2 separate regions of the Homo sapiens genome follow, and region 2 is linked to region 1. The links are contacts of gene promoters, found by promoter capture Hi-C in human tissues and cell types (Jung and others, 2019). All regions are on one chromosome and are shown on one strand. The core of a region is centred on a gene start or on the middle of the fragment in contact, and the rest is flanking DNA. Distances in the headings are between cores, read along the strand shown.

Region 1 (2,859 bases), core at 335-2,834:
CAGAACATCAACTTCCCAGAACTGTGGAGAGTATTCTGGATTCATTTGAATTGAGCAGTGCCTGGAATCTCTTCATCCAACCAATATATGCCATTTTTTCAGTAACACCAATTTAATTTTGCTCTTCTATATCTTCCTAGTTCAGTGGAGAATATCATGTTATAGAAAAAGGTAATGATAACTTCATTAGCTGAAAAAAATGTGTTTCTATTTTCTAGGGTTGGAGAATTTGTCTTTGAATTATTTAAGCTGTATGACTATCTATTTATCTGTCTATCTATCTATCTAAATATATACTTAGATGATGCTTAAACATGCACAGAATTACACTTGGCTGTACACATATACATCTAAGTAATTTTTCTATTTCTATATTCCCATTCTTTTCTCCCAAAACGCCAGATATAAAAATATTCCATTAAAATGACTGTATTTTCTGATTGAGAAATCAAATTCCAATGCAGTCACAAAATATGTTTATTAGTGGGTATACCACTAGCAATAAAATACTACAAGATATCTTTTAGTTTTTTTTCTCCTGGGTCATTCATTTTCCAAATCTTCCTAGCTTCTAATTCTAATGAAGCAGTTACATTTATTTCTGTCTCTACATACAAGGAGAAATTGTTCCCATTGTCAAATAAGCTGAAGAAAACCTTTCTTTCCTCCCTTCTCAGCAGCATGGGTGTTGGGCTCTACCTTAACATTTGAAAATATTTATCCTTCTGTCCTAACTTCCATCACTGCCATTGAGTGCAATTGGTATCACTGAGCTCACTAATTTGGGACAGGAATAATGATGCTAAAGCTCTTGTTAGAGGAATCATTAGGGTTTAAAAAAATCTACACTTGATGGCCTGATTGTACTATTAAGCTAGGATATCCTATGTGTAATGTACAAGTAATTAGGGTGAATAGAGTGATTTTAGAGAGACTTGCTCTCAAAGATTGTAGTTGTCCTTGAAAAAATATAAAGGTAAAAAGCAGTGGCATCTTGTACAACAAAAGGAAAGCCACAAGAAAGATTATATGCTAGCTATTTCTTTATTCTCTTTCTTTTATGAAGTCTTTACATTCTGATAAGTTTCCTGTGACATCTAGAGAACCAACCACAGTGAATAGTCAATAACAGGAAGTAGATACCATGCCTTTATGAAGTTGCTGCTTTAAACTGGAATGCCAGTTCTCTAGCAGAACTACAGTGTTCTACAGGACCGATGACACTTAAATGCTTAGATGGGAGATAACTTCTGATGAGTGTGATTACACACGCTTAGGTCCTCTGATTTGCCAATGGCAGTTGAGGAGGCATCACTTCCTTGCATGGCGTTTGTGCACAATTTATGTTTGTACCCGAGGGCAAGACAGGTTAATAAGGCCAAGAAGGAGGGGAGGCTGTGGGAGTGGGTAATAACTGGGGAGGACTTCACAGCATCAACCTGGGGGAAAGGGAGGAGGGCTGAGGATGAAGGGTGTTCCCTCCTCCTTCTGCCTATGTGTTAAGTGGCAAGAGAAATTTTGAAAGCTGCTGTGAGGAGGAGCTACTGACTGGGTTTTGGGGTGTTTTGTACCCCACCCTCCTCACTTGTAGGAAAGCCTCTTTGCATTTAGACGTAATTGAACTGGAAGGAAGGAGACTGGCCAGGGAATAGGGGGAAAGAAATTCTCCCGTTGCTCCTCCTACTGTTTATCACTTGCCTCCGGACTGTCTTCCAAACCAAGCTCAGCTGCATCAAGGTGGCAGCAGAATACCCTGTGCAAGTGCCAGCGTCTTCTTAGCCGCTCTGTGCATCCCAGGCTGCCCTGTTATCTGGCCACCGTCCCTGGCCATTGGGACTGCTTCTGATGGCTCTGGCCTCTGCTGCCCCAGGGAGCATCTTCTGTAAGCAGCTCCTTTTCTCTCTCCTGGTGAGTAACAACCAAAGGATTAGGGAATTCAAGCATGTTACTACCTGCTTCCTCTCTGCAGTTTGGGCTTGAAAGAGACTAGGAGTGAGGATGGGAGGCAGAGAAGAGAGATTGGGGAAAACAAAAGCAGATCTGAGGAAGATTCAGGGAAGAGTTGAGAGGCTTGGGATTCAGGATGGAAAGTGTTCAGCTTACTTCTCAAGCACCCACTGCCAGAGTGTTAAAAGTTTTCAAGGGAATCCCTCTTCCATCCTGCTGTGGTGATTTTCTAAGAGTAGAGAAGTGAATTCATTCTTTAGGCATTTGGCCCAGAAGTTTCTGAGGTTTACTTCTGCTACCAGTGATTACATAAACTCATGTTATTTAACATGCTGAGTTCTACTAAGCTGCAAAAAAAGAGAAAGGATTCTGGGTGAACATGCAAATTATCCAGGACTTTTTGAATTTTACCCACGAAGCAGTTTAAGCAAAGAATAGTTTAAGAAAAATAACAAAAATGTGACTGTCATTGAAAATATCCTCAACTTGGCTTCCACTTGGGTTTTTAATAGCTTTGTAACTGTGTAAGGTGCTATTTTTTCTTTGGAGGTGAGGGAAGAGAGGGGGGTTATTTCACACATCCGTCCATCATTTCTGAGGTGTGAGTTTCCTATTTTTTCATTTTAGCAAAATACTTGAGTTTCAAAATATATTTTTAGAAATGGCAGGTATGAGGACAAACATTTTCTCCATGTAAATAATATACAATGCAGGGTTGATGGTCACCTTCTCATCCTGTAACTGCTTAGGGAGACGATAACTCAGATACCATCTTAAGTTAGTACAAGTTTGGTAAAATGTGGTAAAAATGTTTCAAAGGATTCTACCCACATTTCTTTTGCTTCTGATCCCTGTACTGTCTAATATCTCTTGGACAATTCATCTCCTGTTTATTTATTTCTGACTCTGAAA
Region 2 (2,707 bases), core at 84-2,583, 86 kb before region 1:
CAGGCCACCAAAGCCGACAGAAGCTATCCTGGGACTTCATGTGAATCTGTAACTTATGTAACAAACAGGAATAGAGAAGATTATGATTTTTCTGTATTTTTGAAGGAATTAAAGTCAAACTTCTTAGATTTCCTTCTAGCTGGTAAAAACAAGGGAACCATTTTTTGTTAAGATTTATAAACTGAAGAATTTCCTATCAATGCAGAATTCTAATTTTGACCAGTTGACACCTAAGCTTTTGAAAAATTTTTCACACATTGACTGGATTCCATTGTTTTTAAATATCCTGATCTTATATCTGGAACTCTGTCTGTACATTTTTTCTGTTTCAATTATAACTAATTCTGGCCTTATTTGGGAGAAATTGAAGAAATGGCTTTTAAGTAACTTTTGCTGTTTATTTGGTGTTTGTCTTGTGCTCAGGCAGAAAAAAACGGATGCCTGCTTTGCTCCCATGAGAAAACAACCTGATTATTTTATTATTATCATTATTTTTGCTTTCTTTCTTCCTGGAACCATTCCCTCAGTCCCACTCCACACATTTCACTCCAAACCTCACTGCCATCATGATACCTATTATGTAAAGAACACTCGTGATTAAAATTTCCCAGCATCATCTGAATTCTTTTTTGCATTAAATGACAGGTATAGCTCACCAAACACCACCTATAATACAATCAGTGGAAGAGGAAACAATTTTTACTCCATCAATAGATTATTCAATATGATGAATGATGATCTTCTATTTGATCCGTATCTTAACATATTTCTGGGCTCATTACTGATGAAAAGGAATCATCCTAACAGTATTGATACTAGTGTTGGTATAATGATTAATTTTGTGTCCACCTCACTGGGCTATGGAACACCCAGATATGTGGTGAAACATCATTCTCGGTGTTTCTGTGAGGGTGTTTTCAAATGGGATTGACATTTGAATTGGTTGACTGAGTAAAGCAGATTGCTCACCCTAATGTGAGTGGGCCTTATTCAAGCAGTCAAAGGCCTGAAAAAGGCAGACTGTCTATGAGTAAGAGGGAACTCCTTTTGTCTGACTGCCTTTGAATTTGGTCATCAGGTTTTTTTCTGCCTTGGACTCAAACAGAAACATTGGCTCTTCCTTGGTCTCAAGTCTGCTGGCGCTGAGACTGGAATTATATCATCTGCTCTTTGGGTCTCCAGCTCATCAACTCACCCTGCAGAGAGCTTGGGACTTGCCCACAATTATGGAGGGGGGCTAATTCCTTATATTAAATCTCTTTTTGGTTTTGTTTCTCTGGAGACTTCTTGACTAATTTAAGTGACTTAGTTTCAGATATACATTTCTGGCAAACAAGAATGACTTTTATTTCTAACACCATAGCCTTCCCCTGCAGGCTCATGCATGTTCATATACAAACCTCAAGTATGTGTATAAGTTTGATGCTTAGAGTCAAGAATGAATAACTCTGTGGTCCATTAGTTTTGCTTAAAAAACTTTTATGAGGCCAAGTGCAGTGGCTCACGCCTGTAATACCAGCATTTTGGGAGGCCGAGGCAGACGAATCACCTGAGGTCTGGAGTTCAAGACCAGTCTAGCCAATACGGTGAAACCCTGTCTCTATTAAAAATACAAAAAATAAAAAATAAAAATAAATAAAATTAACCAGGCGTGGTGGCAGGTGCCTGTAATCCCAGCTACTCAGGAGGCTGAGGCAGGAGAATCTCTTGAACCTGGGAGACAGAGGTTCCAGTGAGCCAAGATCGTGTCACTGCACTCCACCCTGGGCAACACAGCAAGACTCTGACTCAAAAAACAGAAACAAAAACAAAAACAAACAAACAAACAAACAAAAAACTTTGGTGAGTTATCACCCATATTGGTAATGTGAATAATCTACACTACTACTCGATAACATCCAAGAGAAAGCTGAAATGGGATAATGTGCAAAAGATGCTTTGGTATTGTTTATTCTCATCAATATTACCTATAGTGCTTATATCTTAGGTGGCATGAATCGAAATGGAAGCAAAGATACTGTTGGAGGTTTCCATCAATATTTTTAAAATGTAGCTGCTCATTTGTAATGCATTGGTCATGTTGATAGAGAATATTTAGAGTATGTCAAAGTGCTAACCAGTTTATTTGCCATTCTGGTTATGTATGTTTTCTTCAACAGAGGTGAGGGACAAATATCTCTGACTAAAAACAGGGAAAACAATAATTATAGTTGACACCTGCACGGTTCCCCTTATCCCATACCATTAGGAGAATATATGAGTGTTTAACTGAGGTAAAACAGAAGTGGAAATACGTTTAGAAACGTGCATCACCACTATTACACAATAGCTCTAATTGCTCATAGAGTTTGATGTGTTTCTTATTGCAAAAGGTCTGAGGGCATCGTTTGTTTTGTCTGTTCTTTATGGGTCAGGAAATAGTGAGAAAGGAATTGAAAAAGTTTGGCTTCTCAGAGCTCACCCTGAAGAGACTATCTCTAGAATGTGAGGTCATTTCTTATCTGAAGGGTTGGTTTATTTCCACATCCATGAAATGTCATTTTCTCTGCAGACACTGCCAATTTAAATTTATTTTGTGTGTGATGTAGACAGATGTCTGCTAGGAGCTGGGCTGAGGCCATTAACACTTCACAAGGGAGGTGGTTCTAGTACCTAAGCGGTAGTTAGCAGCTCTGACTTGTGGTGCTAGTTTTACCAGTGACTGGGC

The links. The method cuts DNA at HindIII sites, captures the fragments that hold promoters and counts their contacts. A contact is called where the count stands out against the background at its distance.
Region 2: a fragment that was not itself captured here is called in contact with the fragment with the promoter of DSC1 in region 1 in 2 of the 25 tissues and cell types used here (aorta and neural progenitor cells).

The regions. Positions count from the first base shown.
Region 1 is chr18:31,161,581-31,164,439 of GRCh38, reverse strand. It overlaps DSC1 (desmocollin 1), which reads left to right and starts at 1,584. Exons shown (of 16, transcript NM_024421.2): 1 at 1,584-1,908. The coding sequence starts at 1,846. DSCAS (DSC1/DSC2 antisense RNA) reads right to left here. Exons shown (of 4, transcript NR_110785.1): 4 at 1,651-1,905. The HindIII fragment of the contact is 13,832 bases long and covers 1-2,859 here.
Region 2 is chr18:31,247,669-31,250,375 of GRCh38, reverse strand. LOC105372049 (a long non-coding RNA gene) reads right to left here. Exons shown (of 4, transcript XR_001753388.2): 2 at 1-52. Among named protein-coding and RNA genes, the nearest start is that of DSG1, 69 kb to the left of the region's middle. The HindIII fragment of the contact is 4,740 bases long and covers 1-2,707 here.